Regions from separate parts of the Homo sapiens genome. Here all the other regions are linked to region 1. The links are contacts of gene promoters, found by promoter capture Hi-C in blood cells and fetal thymus (Javierre and others, 2016). All regions are on one chromosome and are shown on one strand. The core of a region is centred on a gene start or on the middle of the fragment in contact, and the rest is flanking DNA. Distances in the headings are between cores, read along the strand shown.

Evidence for each region. Contacts are between HindIII fragments. The CHiCAGO score rates a contact against its expected background, and 5 or more counts as called.
Region 2: a contact is called between a fragment that was not itself captured here and the fragment with the promoter of FIZ1 in region 1, in 4 of 17 cell types (non-activated CD4 T cells, naive CD8 T cells, naive CD4 T cells and 1 more). The highest score is 5.9, in non-activated CD4 T cells.
Region 3: a fragment that was not itself captured here is called in contact with the fragment with the promoter of FIZ1 in region 1 in 2 of 17 cell types (fetal thymus and naive CD4 T cells); the score reaches 6.4 in fetal thymus.
Region 4: a fragment that was not itself captured here is called in contact with the fragment with the promoter of FIZ1 in region 1 in 1 of 17 cell types (fetal thymus); the score reaches 6.0 in fetal thymus.
Region 5: a contact is called between a fragment that was not itself captured here and the fragment with the promoter of FIZ1 in region 1, in 1 of 17 cell types (fetal thymus). The highest score is 6.2, in fetal thymus.

The regions. Positions count from the first base shown.
Region 1 is chr19:55,598,229-55,600,779 of GRCh38, reverse strand. It overlaps FIZ1 (FLT3 interacting zinc finger 1), which reads left to right and starts at 1,263. Exons shown (of 3, transcript NM_032836.3): 1 at 1,263-1,306. ZNF524 (zinc finger protein 524) reads right to left here and starts at 492. Exons shown (of 2, transcript NM_153219.4): 1 at 372-492. RefSeq lists silencers at 1-536, 1,247-1,666 and enhancers at 144-1,017, 1,018-1,892. The HindIII fragment of the contact is 10,107 bases long and covers 1-2,551 here.
Region 2 is chr19:55,091,436-55,093,986 of GRCh38, reverse strand. PPP1R12C (protein phosphatase 1 regulatory subunit 12C) reads left to right here. Exons shown (of 22, transcript NM_017607.4): 14 at 754-834; 15 at 911-971; 16 at 1,119-1,204; 17 at 1,325-1,365; 18 at 1,443-1,545; 19 at 1,661-1,765; 20 at 2,078-2,128; 21 at 2,287-2,337; 22 at 2,429-2,551. The coding sequence ends at 2,515. Among named protein-coding and RNA genes, the nearest start is that of EPS8L1, 17 kb to the right of the region's middle. The HindIII fragment of the contact is 7,228 bases long and covers 1-2,551 here.
Region 3 is chr19:55,190,859-55,193,409 of GRCh38, reverse strand. It overlaps PTPRH (protein tyrosine phosphatase receptor type H), which reads left to right. Exons shown (of 20, transcript NM_002842.5): 11 at 1,669-1,747; 12 at 1,862-1,909. Among named protein-coding and RNA genes, the nearest start is that of SYT5, 12 kb to the right of the region's middle. The HindIII fragment of the contact is 4,918 bases long and covers 1-2,551 here.
Region 4 is chr19:55,217,464-55,220,014 of GRCh38, reverse strand. No RefSeq gene overlaps it. Among named protein-coding and RNA genes, the nearest start is that of PTPRH, 9.2 kb to the right of the region's middle. RefSeq lists a silencer at 1,880-2,066. The HindIII fragment of the contact is 5,191 bases long and covers 1-2,551 here.
Region 5 is chr19:55,301,697-55,304,247 of GRCh38, reverse strand. BRSK1 (BR serine/threonine kinase 1) reads right to left here. Exons shown (of 19, transcript NM_032430.2): 9 at 2,080-2,111; 10 at 1,381-1,551; 11 at 840-937; 12 at 422-581; 13 at 138-198. Among named protein-coding and RNA genes, the nearest start is that of BRSK1, 19 kb to the right of the region's middle. RefSeq lists a silencer at 713-1,007. The HindIII fragment of the contact is 7,445 bases long and covers 1-2,551 here.

The DNA.
Region 1 (2,551 bases), core at 14-2,513:
TTTCCATACGGTTCGCTCCCACGGGGTAGCCTAGTCTAGGAGTCTGGTCTTTGGAACGGTGGAAAGGGGGAGACTGGTCCCCCGACCCTCCCCGTCCCCTCGCCCCGGTACTGACGCGCCCATCGGCCCCCGAGCTGCGAAGCCCAAGCGCGGGGCGGGCCCTGCGGGGGCGACGGCCAATGAGCGGCGCCGGGTAAGCGGGCGGCGGGGGCTGCCAGGAAGGGGGTCTGCGCGCGCGCGCCCGGACGGCTTCGCGGGGCGCGAGCGCGGGAGCAGGAACAGGTGTTGGAGGCGCGCTCCGGGAGCGCGCGGCCCGGCCTCCCCTACCCCCACACCCCCCCTCCCGCCTGCGCCCCCCGCCTCTCGGGTACCTCATTTGCATGTCGCCGGGGCTCGCGAGTGTGCGCGCGCGCGGGGGCAACGGGGCCGGCGCGTGGGAAGGGGAGGGGGTGAGGGGGCCCTGCCCCTCGGCGGCGGCGAGGCGGGGGCGGCGGCGCGCGGTGCCGGCCCCGCCCCTCGGAGAAGCGCCGGGCCCCTCCCTTCCTGCCCTTCCCGCCCGCCTGCGCGCCCGCGGGAAACAAAGGGGACTCGCTGGGTCCTAACGACCGGTCGCGGCCACGCCCGGAAGCCGCGCCTGCGCACCGGCGGCCCTGGTGTGTCCCCAGTGGGAAATAACCCAGCACCACATCCCCAACCACCTCGAAACGCCTTTCCTCTCACAAAGCCCACAGTCGGGTGACCCAAAGACAGATACCGAATGATGAGGAGCGGGAAAATGGCTGCCCAGTGCCCGTAATTAACATGGCACCGGACAGGCTTCGAAGCCCATGGAGTGCTAAGTGGATAAGATGGTGCCGGTCTTTTCCAGCTCTGTATTGCAGTTGGCGCACTTCGCTTTCTTTTTTTTTCCCTAGTCCAACTGTACATCCTAATCGGAGGAGTCCGAGGCTGTGAAAAAGAAATAGTATCTGCTCTCATTTACGTTAGCATCGCCTAGTGTCGCCACGGAGAAGCCCCCTCGCTCTCAGCTCCTTGCCCTTAGTCTGTATGGCGCCGTGGGTGTCCCTAAGCCCCGCCCCTTCCCGCTGCCCTCACCCAAGATGGCGCGGGCCTGGCTTCTTCAACCTCCAGGGCTGGGAAAGGAAAGGGAAAGAGGGAGAAGGGCGGGGATGAGGAAGGGGAGCCAAGAGGGCGGGAGAAAGGGGGAGTACGGCGGGGGAAGGGAGCTGAGGCGGAAGTCGAGGGGCCCCCCGGGTGGAAGTGACGCTGCCCCCGCTGCCCAAAATGTCGGCGCCCAGAGGGAGGTGTAAGTAATTAAAGAGGAAAGCCGACGGACTTCCCCGGCCTCCCGGGGCCGCCCCGGGTCTCCAGGACCAACGCTCCGTACGAGCGAGGTGGACTCGCCTGGCCCCGGGGCCTGCCCGACCTGCCCCCCAACCGGGCGCCCAGGGCTGCACCTTTTAGGGGCAGGGGGAGGGGCACAAAAGGCCGGCTCTCGGGGCCTGGGGCCTGGAGCAGACTGGGCAAGTGGGGGGGCCCGCTCCTCAGGCTGCGGGGTGGAGGAGGAGGCGGGGCCTAGTGGCTGCTGGGGCGGAGCAAGGGCTGGGAGGAGCCTGAGTTGGGCGGAGCTTAGAGTGGAAGTGGGAGGGGCGTGGAGGAGGGAGAGTCTGGATAGAAAATGGGAGGGTCTTAGGCAAAGAGGTGGGGTTTGATAAAGGGGCGTGGCTCAGAAGGAATGGTGGGTAGGCCCTGGATTGAGGGGTGGAAGGAAACTCATTGAGGCTGGTTGGGTAAAGGGAGCCCAGGAAGCAGGAGGGAGGAGTTTAGAGTAGAAGGGATGGAGTTTGTCTGGGGTGTGGCTTAGAGAAGTAGGTAGGCCTAGTGAGGGGGGTGGAGTTTAAGGGTGTAATTTGGAGGGGTTTAATGCAACTATCAGGTCTTTATAATGAATGTGGAAAGGACTTGCAGGGGATGGGAATAGACTTCGTAGAGAAGGCCTGAGAAGGTGACGGGAGTCCAGTGGAGAGTCTTAGAAAGGATGTGGCTTCTTTAAAGGAAAAATTGGGTGGAGTTTTGGAAGTGGGTCTTAGTGGACCCGAGAGGGGCTTAGATAAGTCAAATAACTTAGCAATCATGGTAGGACTTAAGGAGGAATCCAGGAGGAACTTACGGGATAATAGTCATCCAAACAGCTTACTTGTTGCGTCTTTGCTGTGCACCAGCTTAAGTGGGCACGTAGCATTTATTGCCACAATTTTACTTAATTCTCGCCACCACTCCATGAGGTAGGTACTACTATTCCCATTTTACAGATGAAGAATTTTTATTATCTGATGTTACAGGAGTAATTCTGGTCTCCCTGCAAGGATGACTCCAGTGTGCTTAGCCCCAAATCTTTGCCCTCCCATTCGCTAAGTGGTCATCCTGGAAGAGGAGTGGGAGGAGCTTAGAGGGGAGTGGGAGGGCCTTTTGGAAGGAAAAGGGCTTGGCAAAGAATACAAGATCCTTAGGGAACATTGTGGGGGACTTTGAAGGGAGTAGGTGGGACTTA
Region 2 (2,551 bases), core at 37-2,536, 510 kb after region 1:
GTCTGAGGGAGGAGGGGCTGGGGCCTGGGCTCCTGGGTCTGAGGGAGGAGGGGCTGGGGCCTGGACTCCTGGGTCTGAGGGAGGAGGGGCTGGGGTCTGGGCTCCTGGGTCTGAGGGAGGAGGGGCTGGAGGTCTGGACTCCTGGGTCTGAGGGAGGAGGGGCTGGGGCCTGGACTCCTGGGTCTGAGGGAGGAGGGGCTGGGGTCTGGGCTCCTGGGTCTGAGGGAGGAGGGGCTGGGGCCTGGGCTCCTGGGTCTGAGGGAGGAGGGGCTGGGGTCTGGGCTCCTGGGTCTGAGGGAGGAGGGGCTGGGGCCTGGGCTCCTGGGTCTGAGGGAGGAGGGGCTGGGGTCTGGGCTCCTGGGTCTGAGGGAGGAGGGGCTGGAGGTCTGGACTCCTGGGTCTGAGGGAGGAGGGGCTGGGGCCTGGGCTCCTGGGTCTGAGGGAGGAGGGGCTGGAGGTCTGGACTCCTGGGTCTGAGGGAGGAGGGGCTGGGGCCTGGACTCCTGGGTCTGAGGGAGGAGGGGCTGGAGGTCTGGACTCCTGGGTCTGAGGGAGGAGGGGCTGGGGCCTGGACTCCTGGGTCTGAGGGAGGAGGGGCTGGAGGTCTGGACTCCTGGGTCTGAGGGAGGAGGGGCTGGGGTCTGGGCTCCTGGGTCTGAGGGAGGAGGGGCTGGGGCCTGGGCTCCTGGGTCTGAGGGAGGAGGGGCTGGGCCCTGACCCCAGCGTCCCCTGACTGTCCCCTTTCCCTGCCAGGGTGTGACTCTTACAGACCTGAAGGAGGCAGAGAAGGCTGCAGGGAAGGCCCCAGAGTCAGAGAAGCCGGCGCAGAGCCTGGTGAGAGGGGTCAGCGAGGGCGAGTGGGGTGGTGCGGGATGTCCTGCTTCCCTGACTCGCCTCCCCCTCCCGACAGGACCCTTCCCGAAGGCCCCGCGTCCCTGGAGTGGAGAACTCTGACAGCCCTGCCCAGAGAGGTGAGGTCTGCTCTCGGGGAGGTCATTCCCAGGGAATCATCCAGTTTCTCCCATAGTCTTCTTGCTTTCCTGGGGGCTTGACCCGGGGACCCAGGCACCGAGAGGGGGCTCTGGAGGTGCCTGGGCTGATTCCTGCCCCTCCCCCAGCAGAGGCGCCCGACGGGCAGGGTCCGGGACCGCAGGCGGCCAGGGAGCACCGCAAGGTCGGAAAGGAGTGGAGGGGGCCTGCGGAGGTGAGGGGCTCAGGTGGGGCCGAGCTGGTGCAGAGGGTGGGCCGGGGGGCGGGCAAAGCCCTTCCCATACCCGCTAAAGTCCCTCCCATACCCATTGAACCCCCGTCTACCTGCCCACAGGGGGAGGAGGCGGAGCCGGCTGACCGCAGCCAGGAGTCCAGGTAGGGGCGGGGTGGGAGAGGTGGGGTCTGCGTGCGGGCCGGGCCGGCCCCTGACGCGCGCTCCTCCCCTGCCCCAGCACCCTGGAGGGCGGCCCCTCGGCCCGCAGGCAGCGGTGGCAGCGGGACCTCAACCCAGAACCTGAGCCAGAATCGGAAGAGCCAGACGGAGGCTTTAGGACGGTGCGATCCCACCCCTCCGTCGGGGCTTTGCCTGCTGGGTGCCCAGCTTCCTGGCTTCCCCGCCCCCCCAGCATCGCCCCATCCTCCACCTGACCCTCCTCTACCTGACCCCCAGCTGTATGCAGAGCTGCGCAGGGAGAACGAGCGGCTTCGCGAGGCCCTGACCGAGACCACGCTGCGGCTGGCGCAGCTCAAGGTGGAGCTGGAGCGGGCCACGCAGGTAAGGGCGCCGAGGCCAGGGTCACGGGAACTGGCAGGGCCGCCTGGGTGGGGCTTAGACTGCTGGGAGGTAGAGCCTGGCCTGGGGGTGCCGGCGGGGCTGGGCTTCACTTGAGGGGCGGGGCCGAGATCTCGGAGGCGGAGTCTGAGCGAGGGGATGGGGCTGTGGGCCTGCCGGTGGCGGGGCCTGGCCCGTGGGGGAAGGGCTTGTGGGCTGCCTAGTGGGCGGGCGGGTGCCCAGCAGGAGCCTAGGACCCTTCAGAGCAGTGCTGGCTTCTTCTGCTGACCCCTGTGCTTTCTGTGTCCTCACCAGAGGCAAGAACGCTTCGCTGAGAGGCCAGCCCTCCTGGAACTGGAGAGATTCGTGAGTAGGGGCAGTGGGGATGGGGGCCAGAGGCGTCCCCAGCCTCACATCCCTAAGTTTGGACCAAGGGAGCCACATTGCCCTTCCCAGCTGGCCCCTGGCCTTCCCCTGCCCTCCTCAGCCTCACTCAGTTTCTGCACTTTCCCTGTTCATTCCAGGAGCGCAGGGCCCTGGAACGCAAGGCCGCAGAGCTGGAGGAGGAGCTGAAGGTGGGGGCTGTGGGGGCTGTGGGCAGAGGGCCGAGGGTGGGTGGGGGTGCAACCCGCCAGGGCTGCCCAGCTGACCCTTGCCGTCCCCCAGGCCCTGTCTGACCTCCGCGCTGACAACCAGCGCCTCAAGGATGAGAATGCAGCGTTGATCCGCGTCATCAGCAAACTCTCCAAGTGACCCGGAGGGACTTTCCCGCACCCGTATTTATACAGC
Region 3 (2,551 bases), core at 36-2,535, 410 kb after region 1:
TGCCCAGGCTGGAGTGCAGTGATACGATCATGCCCACCACAGCCTCCACCTCCCAGGCTCAAGTGATCCTCCTGCCTCAGTCCCCTGAGTAGCTGGGACTACAGGCATGTACTACCATGCCCAGCTATTTTGTTGGGGTTCTTTTTGTTTTGTTTTGCTTTCTTTTTCTTTTTTTTTTTTTTGAGACAGAGTCTCACTCTATCACCCAGTCTGGAGTGCAGTCGTGCAATCTCAGCTCACTGCAGCCTCCACCTCCCGGGTTCAAGTGACTCTTATGCTCAGCCTCCTGAGTAGTTGGGATGACAGGTGTGCACCACCATACCCAGCTAACTTTTGTTTTTTTAGTAGAGACTGGGTTTTGTTATGTTGCCCAGGCTGGTCTCAAACTCCTGGGCTCAAGTGATCCACCCACCTCAGCCTCCCAAAGTGTTGGGATTACAGGGGTGAGCCACCATGCCTGGCCAGGAGTCACTCTTCAGCAACCAGGTCACCTGTGAAAATGATGGATAGTTGACCCTTGAACAATTGTCCCCTACACAGTAGAAAATCTGCATATAACAGCCGGGCATGGTGGCTCATGCCTATAATCCCAGCACTTTGGGAGGCTGAGGCAGGTGGATCACGAGGTCAGGAGATCAGGACCACCCTGGCTAACACGGTGAAACCCCAACTCTACTAAAAATACAAAAAATTAGCCAGGAGTGGTGGCGGGCACCGGTAGTCCCAGCTACTCAGGAGGCTGAGGCAGGAGAATGGCGTGAACCCGGGAGGCAGAGGTTGCAGTGAGCCGAGGTCGCACCACTGCACTGCAGCCTGGGTGACAGAGCAAGACTCTGTCTCAGAAAAAGAAAAAGAAAAAAAAATCTGCACATAACTTTTGACTCCCCCAAAACTTAACTACTAATAGCCTACTCTTGATTGGAAGCCTTACCAATAACATAAACAACATACATTTCATCTGTAATATGTACTACATACTGTATTCTTTTTGTTTGTTTGTTTGTTTTTGAGACAGAGTCTTGCTCTGTTACCCAGGCTGGAGTGCAGTAGTGTGATCTGGGCTCACTGCAAGCTCCACCTCCCGGGTTCACGCCATTCTCCTGCCTCAGCCTCCCGAGTAGCTGGGACTACAGGCGCCCACCACCACGCCCTGCTAATTTTTTGTATTTTTAGTGGAGATGGGGTTTCACCGTGTTAACCAGGATGGTCTCGATCTCCTGACCTCGTGATGTGCCCATCTCCGCCTCCCAAAGTGCTGGGATTACAGGCGTAAGCCACCGCGCCCGGCCGTACTATATGCTGTATTCTTATAATCAAGTAGCTAAAGAAAAAAATGTTACTAAGAATATCCTAAGGAAGAGAAAATGTACTCGCTATTTATTAAGTAGATCATCATAAAGGTCTTCCTCCTTGTAGTCTTCGCGTTGAGTAGGCGGAGGAGGAGGAGGAGGTAGGAGAGGGGCTGGTCTTGCTGTCTCAGGGGTGGAGGAAAATCCATGGGTAAGCGCGTAAGTATAACTGGACCGACGCAATTCACACCGTGTGATGTTCGGGGGTCAGCTGTCTTTGGACCAGGCTCCTGGGGAAGAGGAAAGGCTGGGCAGGGTTGGAGACAGATGAGCAGCTCAGACCTGCGCTCTGAGGGTTCCCGATGCCTCCTCCCCACAGGGGTCATTGCCGGAGCCTTTGTGGGCATCCTCCTGTTTCTCATCCTCGTGGGCCTGCTGATTTTCTTCCTGAAGAGGAGGTGAGACTCAGCACAGGGCTGACCGCCTGGAGGGTGGGGGCTGGAGAAGAAGGAGGAGGACCGCTGGTTGCAGCCTCACCCCCTGAGCCTCTCATCCTAACGTCCTTTTCCCAGGAATAAGAAGAAGCAGCAGAAACCAGAACTCAGGGATCTGGTCTTTAGGTGAGCAGAAGGTCTGGGGGGTGCATTGGAAAGAATCTGGTCAAATCAAGGGGTGTTTGCTGGCTGCCAGCTAGGTCAGAGGGTGGATCAATGCATTTACCCACAAAGGTCTCAGAAGGGGCCCATGCCTCTGCGACAGGGACCACGGCCCTTCCATCGTGACTCACTCCCCAAGCAGCCTGGGCCAGCGAATTCAGTTCTGGTCTCAACTCCCGGACATTCATTCATTCAGCAGATATCAGCTGAGCACCAGCATGTATCAGGCACTGTTCCAGGTGCCAAACAAACAGCAAATGAAACCAAGATTCTTGCCCGCCAGGGGCTTATATTCTAGTACAGGAGATATCAATAAACAAGATTGCTGGGTGCGGTGGCTCATGCCTGTAATCCCAGCACTTTGGGAAGCTGAGGCAGGCAGACCACAAGGTCAGGAGATCAAGACCATCCTGGCTAACGTGGTGAAACCCTGTCTCCACTAAAAAATACAAAAAATTAGCCAGGCTTGGTGGCGGGCACCTATAGTCCCAGCTACTTGGGAGGCTGAGGCAGGAGAATGGCGTGAACCTGGGAGGTAGAGCTTGCAGTGAGTTGAGATCACGCCACTGCACTGCAGCCTGGGTGACAGATCGAGACTCCGTCTCA
Region 4 (2,551 bases), core at 17-2,516, 380 kb after region 1:
CTCATGCCTGTAATCCCAGCACTTCAGGAGGCTGAGGTGGGCAGATAACAAGGTCAGGAGATCGAGACCATCCTGGCTAACACGGTGAAACCCCGTCTCTACTAAAAATACAAAAAATTAGCCAGGCATGGTGGCGGCTACTCGGGAGGCTGAGACAGGAGAATGGTGTGAACCCGGGAGGCAGAGCTTGCAGTGAGCCGAGATCACGCCACTGCACTCCAGCCTGGGCGACAGAGTGAGACTCTGTCTCAAAAAAAAAAAAAAAGAGAAAAAAGAAAAAAGAAAGCACTTTGGGAGGCCAAGACAGGTGGATCACTTGAGGTCAGGAGTTCCAGACCAGCCTGGCCCATATGGCGAAACCCCATCTCTACTGAAAATACAAAAATTAGCTGGGCATGGTGGTGGGCGCCAGTAATCCCAGCTACTCAGGAGGGTGAGGCAGGATAATCGCTTGAATCCGGGAGGTGGAGGTTGCAGTGAGCCAAGATCGTGCCATTGCACTGCAGCCTGGGTGACAGAGTGGGACTTTGTCTAAAACAAAACAAAAAACACTAACAGATGAATCTACCTGGGGAAGTATGTCTTTTTCAGGGGGCATAAAGCTCATCCCTGCTATTATGAACTGAATTTCATCCTCCTTCAAAAATTTGTAAGTTGGCGTCCCAACCTCCAGTACCTCAGAATGTGATTGTATTTGGAGACAGGGTCTTTGAAGAGGTGATTAAGATAAAATGAGGTCACTTTGAGATGCTGAGGCAGATGGATTGCTTGAGCCCAGGAGTTTGAAATCTTCCTGGGCAGCACGGTGAGAACCCCATCTCCCCAGATTTTTTTTTAATTAGCCAAGCTGGGCATGGTGGCTCACGGCTGTAATCCCAGCACTTTGAGACGCAGAGGCAGGTGGATCACTTGAGGTCAGGAGTTCAAGACCAGCCTGGCCAACATGGTGAAACCCTGTCTCTACTTAAAAATAAAAAAATTAGGCCAGGCATGGTGGCTCACGCCTGTAATCCCAGCACTTTGAGAGGCCGAGGCGGGTGGATCACCTGAGGTCAGGAGTTCAAGACCAGCCTGGCCAACATGGTGAAACCCCATCTCAACTAAAAATACAAAAAAATTAGGTGGGTGTGGTGGCAGGCACCTGTAATCCCAGCTACTCAGGAGGCTGAGGCAGGAGAATCTCTTGAATACGGGAGGCAGAGGTTGCAGTGAGCTGAGATCATGCCATTGCACTCCAGCCTGGGCGACGAGCAAAACTCTGTCTCAAAAAAAAAAAAAAAATAGCCGGGTATGGTGGTGGGCACCTGTAATCCCACCTACTCAGGAGGCTGAGGCAGGAGAATCGCTTGAACCTGGTAGGCAGAGGTTGCAGTGAGCCGAGATCGCGGGACTGCACTCCAGCCTTGGCAACAGAGCAAGACTCGGTCTAAAATAAATAAATAAATATATATATACATTATATATATATACACATTATATATATATACATTATATATATATACACATTATATATATATACATTATATATATACACATTATATATATATACATTATATATATACACATTATATATATATACATTATATATATACACATTATATATATATACATTATATATACACACATATATATACATTATATATATATACACATATATATACATTTTATATATATATACATTATATATATATATATATATATATATATATATATATATATATATATATATATATGTAAGCCAGGCATGGTGATGTGCCACTGTAGTCCCAGCTACTCAGGAGGCTGAGGTGGGAGGATCACTTGAGCCCAGGATGTAGAGGCTGCAGTGAGCTGTGTTCGTACCACTGCACTCCAGCCTGGGAGACAGAGTGAGATGCTGTCTCAAAAAAAAAAAAAAAAAAGTCACACTAAGGTGGGCCATAATCCAACCTGACTGGTGTCCTTATCAGAAGAGGAGGTTAGGACACAGACACATGGAGGACAAGGGAGAACACGGCCATTTGCAAGCCAAGGAGAAAGAGGCCTCAGGAGGAACCAACCCTGCCCACATTTTCATCTTGGACCTCCAGCCTCCAGAACGGTGGGAAAACAAATCTCTGCTGTTTGGGTCACCTAGTCTATGCTCTTTGTTGTAGTAGCCCTAGCAAACGAATATACCAGTTTTTATGGAAAACCACACAGCGCCCAGATTCCTGGGTTCCGAACAATGGGGGATGGAATTTTCTCATAGTTTTTGTTTTGTTTTGTTTTGTTTTTGTTTTTTCTTTTTTTGAGACGGAGTCTCGCTCTGTCGCCCAGGCTGGAGTGCAGTGGCACGATCTTGACTCACCGCAGCCTCCACCTCCGGGTTCAAGCTATTCTCCTGCCTCAGCCTCCCGAGTAGCTGGGATTACAGGAGCCTGCCACCACGCCTGGCTAATTTTTGTCTTTTTAGTAGAGACGGGATTTTCAGAACCATATTGGCCGCACTGGTCTCGAATTCCTGACCTAAAGTGATCCACCCGCCTCGGCCTCCCAAAGTGCTGGGATTACAGGCGTGAGCCACCGCGCC
Region 5 (2,551 bases), core at 33-2,532, 300 kb after region 1:
CCTTGGGTCTTTGGCCCTCCAGGGACAAAGAAGCAAGTCTCAAGACTGCACAGGAATTGTAGTTTCTGCTACTCAATCTTTGCTCCATGTCTCCACCCCTTTCTCCTTCTTAAATCCCACTGGGGACCTGGCCTTACCCTTGGGCTGCTTAGAGGGCTGGAGGACAGACCCGTGGAGGCTCCACTGACGCTACGGGATCTGTTTCCAGGATAGATTTAAAAAAAAAAAATCAGATGGGAGGGTTTCAAAAACCACAGATGTTCCCTCACTTCTACAGTCCTTCCAGGTGAGGAAATGAGGCCCAGAGAGGGGAGGTGAATTGTCCCAAGGACACAGCACATTTGAGGTAGAGCTGGGGTTAGAATCTTGAACTCCTAGACCCAGGGATTGTGGATCCTCCTGGAGGGACAGGGGCTCCCACCTCTGGCTGTGCTGGGCCATCTCCAAGGCCCGTCGGGTGGGTACAGGGGAGCCACCACCCCCGGCATCGGTGATGCTCAGGACTTCCATGGACTTCCGCTCTGGTCGCCGCTTCCCGTGACGGCTCAGCATGGGAGAATCCACACGCTTCCGGGGGGGGTCTGAGGGACAACAGTTTCAACCCAATCAAGAGATGGTTTCACCCAGCTGTGTACAACTGCCTCAGAAACTGCACACATGGGGAAACAGGCCTAGAGTGGAGAGGGGATTTGATAAATGTCAAAGAGCAAGTCAAGCAGTCTAAAGCTGGAAGCTCAGAGCCTGCAGCCCCTTCTTTCCTTGGGAATCTGGGGTCCCCGTGGCCAGCCTCTTCCAATCTCGAGACCCAGGTGTCTGGTCCCCTAGCCCTGCCTTCTCACCAACATCATTCCGGGGAGGCAGGTCCTGGTCCTCACAGCTGGGATACCGCTCCTTCCGATCCAAAAGCAGATAATATATCATCTTTTCTTGGTTCTCCCTAAGGCAGGGGGTGGGAAAGGTGGAAAGAGGTAGCAGAGGGCTGAGGTCCAACATCAATGCTCAGAGGAGGTCTCCTCCGCTCCCTGTATTTCTGCCCATGGTTCCATTTTTTCTAGGTATCAGTATGGTCAGTTTCTCTGGTTTAGGGTACATCTCAGCTGTGTTTCACTCAATTATAATAACACTGTAACACCTAACATCCAGGCAAGAACTATTTGTAAGTACTATGTATATGTAAGTACTATGTCGCAGCATCTATTAATACTTTCTCAGCGTGTTTCTGGGCCGTTTTCTCCGCTGGTTCCATCACTCCCAGGCGGGAGCTTCAAACCATGCCCCATGAGAGGCCAGGGTTCCTCGCCCAGCACTCTGCATGTGCGCAGGGAGCTGCTGCAGCTCGCCCCACGTGGGTACACGGGTGCAGGGGTCTTGGGGTCTTACTCCTCACTGCGCAGCTCGCGATGCAGCCTCTCGCGGTCCCTGAAGCAGCCCAGTGATGCCATGCTCTCTAGGACGTCGGGGTCCAGCTCTCCGTTGGATGGCAGGCTCCGCATGGCTACCCGGCGGCCAGGGGCTGGCTCCAGGCACGGGTCTGGCTCGTGTTTCCCGCCTCTGGGGAAGTGGAGAAACATTATTGGGAACCGGGCTTCTGAGATTCAGCATTCTTCATTCTAGACTCAATGATCCCGGACCCCGAAATCCGAGTCTAGGCCCCGGCCCCTTCTCTCTCATACCCAGGAATCCAGACGCCCCAGACCTCGCCCCCCATCTCAGACCCAGGAGTCCAGACCTCCAGCCCCTTTTCCCTCCGACCGAGGGGTCCAGGCCCCCGGCCCCTCCTTCTTCAGACCCAGAAGTCCAGGCCCCCAGCCCCTCCTCCCTCGGATCCAGGAGTCCAGGCCCCCAGTCCCTTTTTCCCTCAAACCTGGGAGTCCTGGACTCCTAGCTTAGCCCCTCCTGCCTCTGACCCCTAGACTCCTTCTCTAGCTGTGTCCTCTTCCCCCAGGACCCATAAGTCCGAGTCCCTAGCCCGTTGCCTCTCAGGAACCCTGGCATCCCACCCCTCCCAGCCGCTTCTACTGCTTTGGCCCCTCCCCTATTTCCGCCAGGGACCCAAGAGTCCAGTTACCCCATACTCACAGGTACCAAGGATGTTTCTGAATTTGCTCCAGCTGTGAGGGTGGTGAGTCGTAGAGAAGCAGAAGTGAGGTCGTAGGCACATGTAGGCGCGCAATGAAAGACTGGGGTGGTTTTGGGGTCCCTGATCATCTCCCCGCCCACCCCACCGGGGGCAGGATGACATATTACATCGCCCTCTAGTGGCGACTGAGTGCATCGCCCCGCGCACGCGCGGTCTCCGTGTACCCCGGACCGGCCGCATTACTTTGCCGCATGCGCAGTGGCATCCTGTTCGCCTCCTTACTCCTGCGCCCTCCCGCTGCCTGGAGCTCCCCGCCCCAATCTTGCGTAGCCCCCTCCCCAGTTTGGAGCGGCAGCTGTGCTGGACCTTGGGCTGCGGCTCAGCTGGCGATCCCAGTCACCCTGGGGACTGACGAGCAGGTTCTGGAAACCCATCCCCATGACTTTTCTAGGGGGTTCTGTCTTCATCGGC